2 separate regions of the Homo sapiens genome follow, and region 1 is linked to region 2. Evidence: promoter capture Hi-C in human tissues and cell types (Jung and others, 2019). All regions are on one chromosome and are shown on one strand. The core of a region is centred on a gene start or on the middle of the fragment in contact, and the rest is flanking DNA. Distances in the headings are between cores, read along the strand shown. Region 1 overlaps PDXDC1 (pyridoxal dependent decarboxylase domain containing 1). Region 2 holds the start of NDE1 (nudE neurodevelopment protein 1).

Region 1 (6,553 bases), core at 2,896-5,395, 660 kb before region 2:
TAATATTATCCTGAAACTGGATAATACTTTATATTTTGAATTATCCAATTAATGCAACAAACACGTGAGGGTCTATGGCATTGGAGTCATTGTTCACATTTATTCACCCAAACTTAACTATCAGTGCTGCTTTTCCTACCCACCCACTCCCCCCTGGGCTTACTCCCTGAAGAGCAAGAATGATTTATTTATTTTTATTTAATTTTTTGAGACAATCTTGGTCTGGCGCCAAGGCTGAAGTGCAGTGTCGCAATTTCAGCTCGCTGCAGCCTCCGCCTCCTGGGTTCAAGCGATTCTCCTGCCTCAGCCTTCCGAGTACCTAGGACTACAGGCATACGTGACCATGCCCAGCTAATTTTTGTATTTTTAGTAGAGACGGGATTTTGCCGTGTTAGCCAAGCTGGTCTCGAACTCCTGGGCCTCAGGTGATCCGTCAACCTCGGCCTCCCAACGTGCTGGGATTATAGTCGTGAGCCACTGCGCCCGGCCAGCAAGAACAATTTAAACATAAGCCAGTTTACGTTTACGTAAACTGCATGTACACTCCAGAGTCAGAGATTCACCTGGGGATTGTGAATCTGCATTTCCCTCCTGCCTTTCAGTTTAAGCATCTTGTCATTACACGGGATTTTAGTGTTTATAAATGCATGTTCACACAATGTGGCTTCTAAACTATTTTGTGTGTATATATATGTATTATATATGTATATAGATATGTGTGTGTGTGTGTGTGTGTGTGTGTGTGTGTGTGTGTATTTGTTGTTGTCGAGACAGGTTCTCTGTTGACCAGGCTGGAGTGCAGTGGTGTGATCATGGCTCACCACCAGAGCCTCAACCTCCCAGGCTCAAGTGATCATCCCACCTAAACCTCCCAAGTAGTTGGGACTACAGGCGTGCACCACCACACCTGGCTGATTTTTGTACTTTTTGCAGATATGGGGTTTTGTCATATTGCCTAAGCTGTATTTTGTCTATTTTTTTTTTTTTTTTTGGTGACAGGTTGTTGCTCTGTCACCCAGGCAGTGGCACAATCTTGTCTCACTGTAGCCTTGACCTCCTGGGCTCAAGCAATCCTCTTGCCTCAGCCTCCTGAGTAGCTGAGACCAGAGGCATGCACTACCATGCCCGGCTTACTTTTTTTGTATTTTTTGTAGAGACGAGGTTTTGCCATGTTGCCCAGGCTCATCTCAAACTCCCGGACTCAACTGATCCTCCTTCCTTGACCTCTCAAAAGTGCTGGGATTACAGGCATGAGCCACCACACCTGGCGTATTTTATCTATTCTTAACAGAAATATTCATTATAATTCTATTGAAAGAAATAGCTGTGTTGCATTTAGAGAACAGTATGTTGATATCCACTCTGGCATGCCTTCCTAAGGGATTTTCAGGTTAATATGACAATTGGAGAATTGAGCCAACTTTAGACCCGTGGTCTAAAGAGAAGTCAAAATTAGTAGGAGTCTGAATCCTTGCCTTCAAGAAGCTTGTAATCTAATTGGAGAGCACATTTATACTGGAAAGCACATCTATAAAACAATTCACAGTAAAGGGTGTAAGGAATCATGAGGATAAATGGCAGCCGCAACAACTGCAAGCATTCTGTCCCATTGTCCCCATAAATACAACCAACATTGTCAAGCAACAAGTCTAGATTTTTGGTTTAGGAAAAAAGGCATCAGTATCATTAGAGGGGATGGGAAAGAGCAAAAGTGGCTTTATCTGTAAAGGCTTCCTGGAATTATTGACTTGTAATTGAATAGGTGCTAGGAGAGAGATAGATAAAAGTCATGAGGATATTTCAGACACTATGGTCGTTGGGAGCATGAAGGTGTGAATCAAGCCAAACTGTTTATCATTTGGCTAGGTGGTAGGGGACACACGGGAGTGTCACAGCAGTGAGGATCGTCAGGAGCATCACCAGCTGACTCAGGGGTGAAGATAAATTCTCTTGACCATCATATTCCTCATTCTCTTCACTGTCTGCACTGAGGCCTTTTTCGAGTGCTTTCTGAGCCTTCTCATAGTTAAAGTGGTGAATTTTATTGAAAACACTTGTTTTAAAATTTGTCTATTTTATCTAAAAATTTGGTCATGGCTAAATGATTACCTTGTAAGCCCTTGTGGGAGCCAGTGTGATATAATAGAGGTCAGAAACAGGAGTCAGGGACCCTAGGTTTTGGCACCTCATTGTCGTTTATTAGCTCTATGGCCATAGGCAAGTCGCTTAACCTCTCTGCATCTTAGTTTCCTCACCTCCAAAATGTTAGACCAGAATCAGACGTTTTTATGCTATACTTTTTTTTTTTTTTCTTTTTTTGAGACAGGGTTTTACTCTGTTCCAGGCTGGAGCGCAGTGACACAATCATAGCTTACTGTAGCCTCAAACTCCCAGGCTCAAGCGATCCTCCTACCTCTGCCTCCCAAGTAGCTAGGTCTACAGGTGTGCACCACCACACCCAGCTAATTTATTTCTCACTATGTTGCCCAAGCTGATCTGAAACTCCTGGCCTCAAGTGATTCTTCTGCCTTGGCCTCCCAAAGAATTTTTTTTTTCTTTTCAATGACACTTTAAAAAAAAATTTTTTTTTTAATTTTTTAAAATTATACTTTAATTTTTAGGGTACGTGTGCACAACATGCAGGTTTGTTACATATGTATACATGTGCCATGTTGGTGTGCCGCACCCATTAACTCTTCATTTAACATTAGTTATATCTCCTAATGCTATCCCTCCTCCCTCCCCCCACCCCACAACAAGCAGCAGTGTATGATGTTCCCCTTCCTGTGTCCATGTATTCTCATTGTTCATTTCCCACCTATGAGTGAGAACACGCGGTGTTTGGTGTTTTGTCCTTGAGATAGTTTGCTGAGAATGATGGTTTCAAACTTCATCCATGTCCCTACAAAGGACATGAACTCACCATTTTTTATGGCTGCATAGTATTCCATGGTGTATATGTGCCACATTTTCTTAATCCAGTCTATCATTGATGGACATTTGGGTTGGTTCCAAGTCTTTGCTATTGTGAATAGTGCCACAATAAACATACGTGTGCATGTGTCTTTATAGCGGCATGATTTATAATCCTTTGGGTATATACCCAGTAATGGGATGGCTGGATCAAATGGTATTTGTAGTTCTAGATCCCTGAGGAATCGCCACACTGACTTCCACAATGGTTGAACTAGTTTAGAGTCCCGCCAACAGTGTAAAAGTGTTCCTATTTCTCCACATCCTCTCCAGCACCTGTTGTTTCCTGACTTTTTAATGATTGCCATTCTAACTGGTGTGAGATGGTATCTCATTGTGGTTTTGATTTGCATTTCTCTGATGGCCAGTGGTGATGAGCATTTTTTCATGTGTCTTTTGGCTGCATAAATGTCTTCTTTTGAGAAGTGTCTGTTCATATCCTTCGCCCACTTTTTGATGGGGTTGTTTTTTTCTTGTAAATTTGTTTGAGTTCATTGTAGATTCTGGATATTAGCCCTTTGTCAGGTGAGTAGACTGCAAAAATTTTCTCCCATTCTGTAGATTGCCTGTTCACTCTGATGGTAGTTTCTTTTGCTTTGCAGAAGCTCTTTAGTTTAATTAGATCCCATTTGTCAGTTTTGGCTTTTGTTGCCATTGCTTTTGGTGGTTTATACATGAAGTCCTTGCCCATGCCTGTGTCCTGAATGGTATTGCCTAGGTTTTCTTCTAGGGTTTTTATGGTTTTAGGTCTAACATTTAAGTCTTTAATCCATCTTGAATTAATTTTTGTATAAGATGTAAGGAAGGGATCCAGTTTCAGCTTTCTACATATGGCTGGCCAGTTTTCCCAGCACCATTTATTAACAAGGGAATCCTTTCCCCATTTCTTGTTTTTGTCAGGTTTGCCAAAGATCAGATAGTTGTAGATATGCGGCATTATTTCTGAGGGCTCTATTGTGTTCCATTGGTCTATATCTCTGTATTGGTACCAGTACCATGCTGTTTTGGTTACTGTAGCCTTGTAGTATAGTTTGAAGTCAGGTAGCATGATGCCTCCGGCTTTGTTTTTCTGGCTTAGGAGTGACTTGGCAATGTGGGCTCTTTTTTGGTTCCATATGAACTTTAAAGTAGTTTTTTCCAATTCTGTGAAGAAAGTCATTGGTAGGTTGATGGGGATGGCATTGAATCTATAAATTACCTTGGGCAGTGTGGCCGTTTTCACGATATTGATTCTTCCTACCCATGAGTGTGGAATGTTCTTCCATTTGTTTGTATCCTCTTTTATTTCATTGAGCAGTGGTTTGTAGTTTTCCTTGAAGAGGTCGTTCACATCCCTTGTAAGTTGGATTCCTAGGTATTTTATTCTCTTTGAAGCAATTGTGAATGGGAGTTCACTCATGATTTGGCTCTCTGTTTGTCTGTTATTGGTGTATAAGAATGCTTGTGATTTTTGCACATTGATTCTGTATCCTGAGACTTTGCTGAAGTTGCCTATCAGTTTAAGGAGATTTTGGGCTGAGACGATGGGGTTTTCTAGATATACAATCATGTCATCTGCAAACAGGGACAATTTGACTTCCTCTTTTCCTAATTGAATACCCTTTATTTCCTTCTCCTGCCTCATTGCCCTGGCCAGAACTTCCCACACCGTGTTGAATAGGAGTGGTGAGAAGAGGGCATCCCTGTCTTGTGCCAGTTTTCAAAGGGAATGCTTCCAGTTTTTGCCCATTCAGTATGATATTGGCTGTGGGTTTGTCATAGATAGCTCTTATTATTTTGAGATATGGTCCGTCAATACCCAGTTTATTGAGAGTTTTTAGCATGAAGGGTTGTTGAATTTTGTCAAAGGCCGTTCTGCATGTATTGAGATAATCGTATGGTTTTTGTTGTTGGTTCTGTTTATATGCTGGATTACATTTATTGATTTGCGTATGTTGAACCAGCCTTGCATCCCAGGGATGAAGCCCACTTGATCATGCTGGATAAGCTTTTTCATGTGCTGCTGGATTCAGTTTGCCAGTGTTTTATTGAGGATTTTTGCATCGATGTTCATCAGGGATATTGGTCTAAAATTCTCTTTTTTTGTTGTGTCTCTGCCAGGCTTTGGTATCAGAATAATGTTGGCCTCATAAAATGAGTTAGGGAGGATTTCCTCTTTTTCTATTGATTGGAATAGTTTCAGAAGGAATGGTACCAGCTCCTCCTTTTACCTCTGGTAGAATTTGGCTGTGAATCCCTCTGGTCCCGGACCTTTTTTGGTTGGTAAGCTCTTAATTATTGCCACAATTTCAGAGCCTGTTATTGGTCTATTCAGAGATTCAACTTCTTCCTGGTTTAGTCTTGGGAGGGTGTATGTGTTGAGGAATGTATCCATTTCTTCTAGATTTTCTAGTGTATTTGCGTAGAGGTGTTTATAGTATTCTGTGATGGTAGTTTGTATTTCTGTGGGATTGGTGGTGATATCCCCTTTATCATTCAATGAAACTTTTTACAAATAAAAACTTTACTACTTTACTCAAAACCCTGTTATACAAAACAGAGCTGATCTGCTAGGGAGTTAGAAGCCCCAACTGCTTACCTAACCCTTCCTTCTCAGAGTCCTCCCAGGGACCTTAAAGCTCAGGAGAACACAGCTGGAAAATCCCTGGACTAGATCCCTTAGGTCCCTTCTAGAATGTAACAATTTCTGAATCTTATATTGATAAATGGAGTGGAATTTCTTAAAAACAATTTTGAGGAGGCAATGCAGTTTTAAATACGTACGTATTGTATGCCATGCTGTAACATATTGCTAGATACAGTGAGCAATAGGAAAAGGTAAACACAGCTCTTCCTTTAAGCAGCACACTTAGAAGAGTAAGAGGGGAACAAAAGAGCTATAACTTATATATGATATTATATGTATTATATGTAATATAATATATAATATATAATTTATTGTTATAACACAACTCATACTACATAGAGATTGAAGTCAACAAGAATTTTCTCCCTAAACATAACTACAGAGATTAAGAATAGAGAAAGGAAAAGGAAAGGAATGCGTATGTTTTAATTCTGCAAAAAGTTCGGGCACAGTGGCTCAGCCTGTAATCCCAGCAGAAGGATAACTTGAGCTCAGGAGTTTGAGATCAGCCTGTGCAGCATAATGAGACCTTGTATCTACAAAAAAATTTTGAAAATTAGCCAGGCATGGTGGCGAGCACTTGTATTCCCAGGTACTCAGGAGGCTGAGGTGGGAGGATCACTTGATCCCTGGAGGTCAAGGCTGCAGTGAGCCACGATCAAACCACTGTACCCCAGCCTGTGTAACAGAGCGACTGCCTCAAAAATAATATTTGTCAAAATAGCTTGTCTTTGTATCACTGCCACATTGCTTGTTTGAAACGAAGCTGACTCACTTTGTTATCATAAGTGATCTTACCAAAGACCAAGTTGTCCAGTTGCCTTGGAGTGTAGGTCATGCGTTGCCGGTACCCTGGGGCTGTGTACAATGGCCAGGCTGAGGGGACCTTGTGGTTACCCCCATGGGACTTGTAACTTGTCAAGTGGGAAGGTGGTACCAAGTGAAGAAGGGTAG
Region 2 (6,642 bases), core at 399-2,898:
AGGAGTTCGAGACCAGCCTGGCCAACACAGTGAAACCGTGTCTCTACTAAAAATACAAAAAATTAGCTGGGCGTAATGGTGGGCGCCTGTAATCCCAGCTACTAGGGAGACTAAGACAAGAAAATCGCTTGAATCTGGGAGGCAGAGGTTGCAGTGAGCCGAGATCGCACCATTGCACGCCAGCCTGGGCAACAAGAGGGAAACTCTGTCTCGAAAAGAAAAAAATTATTTTTTAATTTTAATTTGTTAGTGAACAATTAGGGTTGCTGTGAGAATTGTGCCTGGCACACACAGCCATTTAAAAATCACGATCTTCAGGCAGTGTGTGGTGGCTCACGCCTGTAATCCCAGGACTTTGGGAGGCCGAGGTGGGTGGATCACCTGAGGACAGGGATTCGAGAGCAGCCTGGCCAACATGGTGAAACCCCGTCTCTACTAAAAATATAAAAATTAGCCGGGTGTGGTGATGCGGGCCTGTGATCCCAGCTACTCGGGAGGCTGAAGCAGGAGAATTGCTTGAACTCAGAAGGCAGAGGTTGCAGTGAGTGGAGATCACGCCACTGCATTCCAGCCTGGGAGACAGAGGGAGATTTCATCTCAAAATAAATAAATAAACAAAATCAAGATCATTTAACAAATACATATATTGTACTTACTAAGTTCAAATTTCTGTTCTAAACGTTTTTACAAATGCTGTTAAGTCATTTAGTCCTCTGCATAATGTCGTTTGTTTGTTTGTCTGTTCTTTAAGACGGAGTCTTGCCCTGTCGCCTAGGCTAGAGTGCAGTGGTGTGATCTCGGCTCACTGCAACCGCCACCTCCCGGTTTCCCGTGATTCTCCTGCCTCAGCCTCCTGAGTAGCTGGGATTACAGGTGCGTGCCACCACATCCGGCTAATTTTTTGTATCTTTAGTAGAGACGGGGTTTCACCATGTGCCAGGCTGGTCTTGAACTCCTGACCTCGTGATCCACCCGCCTTGGCCTCCCAAAGTGCTGGGATTACAGGCGTGACCACCGCGCCAGACCCATAATGGCGTTTTATAGATGGGGAAACGGAGTCATAGAGGCTAAACAACTTTCCCAAGACCACACAGTTAGTAAGGGGCAGGACTAGGACTCAAAGCCAAGTTTATGACCAAATTCTGGTGCACTACGTTCTCCTGCTTCTGGAGAAGATAATGATGCTGAAGATTCTACTTTTGGTGTAAAGGAGTAGGAAGGGCACGGGGCACTGCTAGCTTCAGTGGGCCTGAATCTTTGTCTTTCCTTCTGATTTGGAGAAAGTGCAAGAATGGGAAAATGCAATCGAAGTGAAGGAGAGGCCGGCGTATTTTCCTGAAATGCGCGGCCCGCAAGCCCAAACCCGTTTCCCGGGTGTCCAGGCAGCGTTCTGCAGCATCTCCAATGCCCGCCAGCCCGCCGCAGCCCAGCGCCCGGCAGCCGGCGCCTCTCAAACCCCCTCCGGCCAGGAGCCTTCGCCGCTTGGCCGCGCCGCGCCCGGCCTGGGAAAAAAGTTTCCAAACGACGCTGCTCTGCGCTGATTGGCCGAGGCGGACGCGGTACCGTAGAGCAGCAGCCAATGGGAGGCGCCGACCGCAGGCTCCGGGGCGGGGGCGGGGTCCGGAGGGCCGGGGCCGCACCGCCCTTCGCAGCCGCCTCTGCCGCCGCCGCCGCGTTGGCCTCGCCGCCCCTGCTCGGGTAAGTGAGGCGCTGCGCGGGGCTGGGGTCGGGGTGGCTGTCCGGGGACCTCCACCGCGGCTGAAAAGCTCCTCTGCCCCGCCCCAGGATCCCGGGACCCCGGGCCACCGCCTGGCAGGGACCCCTACGCCCCTCGCTTGCGCGTCGCTTCCCGGCCGCCTGGACTCCCCCGGTCCCTGGGCTCCAAAATCCCGCCTCCCTGGAGCCTCCCGTCCTAAAAAGTTAGGCACTGAGTGCCTTGCCACCGGTGCGTTCCTCGCGCTGGCCCCTCGCCCTTGGCAACTTTGTTTCTCTTTCTGCGTTGGTCTCTCTCCCACCCCGTTGCCCTCTTCTCCTTCCGGGACTTCCTGGGTGGTTAAGCCTTGCCGGTCCCCAAACCCCGCTGCCAGGCTCCATCCTCTTTCTCCTCTTCCTTCCTCCCCATACTCCTCTCCTAGATGACCCTCGTTTCTTTTCTCTCTCTCTCCTATTCCTCCATCCTGCCACCCGCTTCTCTGCGACCCCAGACCCCTCGATTGCAGCGTTGCCCCTGCCCTCACACCCACTGTCCCGCCCCTGCAGGCCTCTTTCCAAAAACCCACCCTGCTCCCTCCCTCCGGGAACACGTTTGGGGCAGTCTGCTCTCCGCTTTGCTCCCGTCTCTGCCGCAGGACGGTTCAGGTTTCTTCTGACAGCACTTTGGGGAGGGATTGGGTAAAGGACGAAAATGCTTATTCCGCAGCTTGAGTGATGGCTGGGCTCACTGAGGACCTGAGTCTCTGAGGTCCTGGGAAACCCCGCTGTCACCTTGACACCGCTTTTGGGGAGGCGACTTTATCTTCTCCGAGCCATCTCAGGCTTTCTGCCTCCTGAGGGCCTGAGCTTCCTTGATTGCTTTGTCCGTGGTTACTACCAGGTTGTGCCTCTTAATTTCTACTTTGAGCCTCAGGCCCCTTTTAACTTTCTAAAGAAAAGGCCTTTGCAGCACGACCTAGGCAGGTTCATCATTTTTAGTTTTGTTATAGTGTATTCTAGCATAGGATGGCATTTTAGGACATGGGTCGGGTGTTTTGAAGATTAATTAGATCCCAGCTACTCCTAAAGCCTCTTGTTACCCGACCACCCCAGCCTCCATCACCTCGTTGGTATACAACCCGTTTTTTTTTTTTTTTTTTTGTTTTTGTTTTTGAGACAGAGTCTCACTCTCGCCCAGGTTGGAGTGCAGTGGTGCGATTTTGGCTCACTGCAACCTCCGCTTCCCGGGTTCAAGCGATTCTCCTGCCTCAGCCTCCGGAGTAGCTGGGACTACAGGTGCGTGCCACCACGCCTGGCTAATTTTTTGTATTTTTAGTAGAGATGGGGTTTCACCGTGTTAGCCAGGATGGTCTCGATTTCCTGACCTCGTGATCTGCCCCCTCGGCCTCCCAAAGTGCTGGGATTACAGGCGTGAGCCACCGTGCCGGCCTACAACCCATTTTGAGCCTTTCCTCTTAGTGTGTGTTTTGTGTAGGATTAAATGCAGATGATCTGTGCCGCTGAAGTCTCAGGGGCCTGTGATTCATATATTTTATCCCATGTTGGATAACAGTTTATTAACTTGACTTATTTTTGTTTCCAAAGTGTGTTATTTATTATTTATTTATTTATTTATTTTGAGACGGAGTCTTGTTCTTGTCCAGGCTGGAGTGCAGTGGCATGATCTCGACTCACTGCAACCTCAGTCCTCCGGGTTCAAGTGATTCTTCTGCCTCACCCTCCTGAGTAGCTGGGATTACAGGTGCGTGCCACCATGCCCGGCTAATTCTTAGTAGAGATGGGGTTTCACCATATTGGCCAGGCTGGTCTCAAACTTCTGACCTCGTGATCTGCCCACCTCAGCCTCCCAAAGTGTTGGGATTACAGGCATGAGCCACTGCACCCGACTCTATCATTATTATTATTTTTTATGTAGAGGCAGAATCTTGCTTTGTTGCCCAGGCTGGTCTCAAATTCCTGGGCTCAAGCAGTCCTCCTGCCTTGGCCTCCCACAGTGCTGAGATTACTTGCAGGCATGAGCCACTGCATGCAGCCCAAAGTGTGTTCTTTTGCCTTAGAATGTGAGCCGAGAATTGACACTCCTTTTCCTCACAAGGTAATTTCCTAACATGAGCATTCCTGTGTACAGAAAGTTTGTGCCTGCAGTTAGTACTACACGTGCACCTCGTGCAATGGATGTGGGTGCTTTTTGTCTGCCTCCTTCAGCAGTGCCCAGCACTTAGTAGGTATTCAAGAAATGTTTGAAAAGGGTTGGAGGAGGCAAAACCACAGTAGGAAAAATTCTTTCCCTGTCACTTGGTTCAGTAGAATAAAATTATCCTGGAACAATAGCTATTTTACTTTTTGTCCAAGTTTTTGTTTGTTTGTTTTTTGAGACGGGATCTCACTCTGTCGCCCAAGCTGGAACACAGTGATGCAATCACAGCTCACTGCAGTCTCGACCTCTCAGGCTCAAGCAATCCTCTTGCCTGAGCCTCCCAAGTAGCTGGGACTAAAAGCACATGCCACCATGCTTGGCTAATTTTTAAAATTTTTTGTAGAGATTGGGGTCTCACTATGTTGCCCAGGCTGGTCTCGAACTCCTGGGTTCAAGCGATCCTTCCGCCTCAGCCTCCCAACGTGCCGGGGTGGGAGAGAGCCACCGCGCCTGGCCTAAGCTTTTTAAAATCTCTAAAGCGATCTATGCTTACTGTATATATGTGTATGTAGTTTACCTTAAAGCAAGGTGTCAGGTACAAATCCACAGGGCTTGCTTTACCCCCATTCTGGTGCATCCTCCAGACCCTTTTCTATTCTGTGTACAGAGAGAGGGAAATAAACAAAAATGGGCACCCATTTTTAACATATCCTGAGCTTTCTTCCATATTAGTACTTACAGTTCTTAACAACTGCATCGTTTTCCATTCAGTCCTCTGTTGACATTGAGGTTTCCAGTTTTCCACATTCGTGAATGATGGTGTGCATCTTTGAACATGGGTCCTTGCCTGCCTAAGTATTTTTGTAGGTTGATCATTGTAAACTTGGAAAGCACAAAGACAGAAGCCAGGCTTGCTGACTCTTGACTGATGTTGCCCCAGTGATGTCACTCCTGCAAAATGCAAAGCCTGCGTCCTGGCTGTCGGAGCATGTGTGGACATTTGGCAGCTTCTTTCTCTTCCCTCCTGCTCTTCTGTTTGTTTTGATTGGGAAGGATATGGAGTGGGGATGGAGAAGGGTGTTGAGTAATTATCGATGGTTTCTGTATGTTTATTGCTCCTGACTAGCAGTGCTGGGTTTCTTCTCTCAGAGGAAAGCTGAAAGAGATTGCTTTGCTTTTTTCCAGAGTTTTAAAATCAGAGGTGTGTGTCTCGAGTGTATTTTCAGACTTTTTTGTTAGCTTTAATCATGTAAAACATGCAAAAAAAAAAAAAGCATGTGGAAACAATTTTTTTTTTTTGAGACGGGTTCTCGCTCTGTCACACAGGCTGGAGTGCTGTGGGGCGATCTCGGCTCACTGCAACCACCGCCTCCCATGCTCAAGTGATCCTCCCACCTCAGCCTCCTGAGTAGCTGGGACCACAGGTGTGCATCACCACACCTGGCTAATTTTTTTGTGTTTTTGGTAGAGATGGGGTTTCACCATGTTGCCCAGGCTGGTCTCTTATCTGCTGACCTCAGGTGATCTGCCTGCCTCACCCTCCCAAAGTGCTGGGATTACAGGCATGAGCCACCACACCCGGCCGGAAACAAATTTTTGAAGGAGGCATAGATCTCTGTTGTGCAAAATAGATACTTTTTGTACCACTGGGTCCTAGTTTGTCATTGTTCCTTGCATGATCCCATCAGATTTGTCTACAGAGCTGCTGGGGCATGATGGTGTGGTGGCGTATTAAGAACGCAGGTTAGTGGCACACAGATGAAATAAATGCATGTGGGGTGCATTTTTAAGATAGCAGGTGCAAAGTTGTATATACTGAGACCAGGCATTAACACTTGCCTATTACAGTGCCTTTTAAAACACTATGTGAGGGCCGGGTGCAATGGCTCACACCTGTAATCCCAGCACTTTGGGAGGCCTAGGTGGGCAGATCACCTGAGGTCAGGAGATCGAGACCAGCCTGGCCAACGTGGCGAAACCCCGTCTCTCCTAAAAATACAAAAAATTAGCCAGTCGTGGTGGCATGCACCTGTAATCCGAGGTACTAGGGACGCTGAGGTAGGAGAATCGCTTGAAGCTGCGAGGCAGAGGTTGCAGTGAGCTGAGATCACACCACTGCACTCCAGCCTGGGCAACAGAGAAAGAGATTCCGACTCAAAAAAAAAAAAAACAAAAAAAAAAAAAACAAAACTGGACCAAATGAAACAAGTGAATCTGATCTGCAGTCAGTCAGTTTGCAACCCCTGGGAAGCCTTGGACTTGAATGCAAAGATCCCTTGAACTTGGATCTAGTTTGCCTCTGCTGCTCACATGCACATTTAGAGATGGCCAAGGCATACGGTGTTTCTGCTTCCAAGAAACAGAGTGGTTGTCCTGTTTAGCCATCTCTTACAGTCACACAGCTTAAAGAAGATAATGTTTGCAAACAATTTTTGAAATGTCTAGCACACAGCAAACAGAAGGTCAAATTCAGTACTTAATGCTGATAAAATAAGAGAACCCTTGCAAGTCATGTTGCCTGCTTTCTGCCACAGAGAGTACTGCAATAGAACTTTCTGACGTTTTCATGTTGTTTATTTATTTATTTTTTGAGACAGAGTCTTGCTCTTGTGCCCAGGCTGGAGTGCAGTGGTACAATTTCTGCTCACTGCAACCTCTGCCTCTGGGTTCAAGCAATTCTTGGGCCTCAGCCACCCAAGTAGCTGGAATTATAGGTGCGCTCTACCACACCTGGCTAATTTTTGTGTTTCTAGTAGAGACAGGGTTTCACCATGTTGCCCAGGCTGGTCTTG

The links. Contacts are between HindIII fragments. The study calls those that stand out against the background at their distance.
Region 1: a contact is called between a fragment that was not itself captured here and the fragment with the promoter of NDE1 in region 2, in 2 of the 25 tissues and cell types used here (bladder and heart left ventricle).

The regions. Positions count from the first base shown.
Region 1 is chr16:14,990,553-14,997,105 of GRCh38, forward strand. All of the region lies in intron 1 of PDXDC1 (pyridoxal dependent decarboxylase domain containing 1), which reads left to right. Among named protein-coding and RNA genes, the nearest start is that of MIR1972-1, 17 kb to the right of the region's middle. The HindIII fragment of the contact is 6,885 bases long and covers 704-6,553 here.
Region 2 is chr16:15,648,597-15,655,238 of GRCh38, forward strand. It overlaps NDE1 (nudE neurodevelopment protein 1), which reads left to right and starts at 1,649. Exons shown (of 9, transcript NM_017668.3): 1 at 1,649-1,698. RefSeq lists enhancers at 1,350-1,851, 1,852-2,351 and a silencer at 4,716-5,010. The HindIII fragment of the contact is 16,587 bases long and covers 1-6,642 here.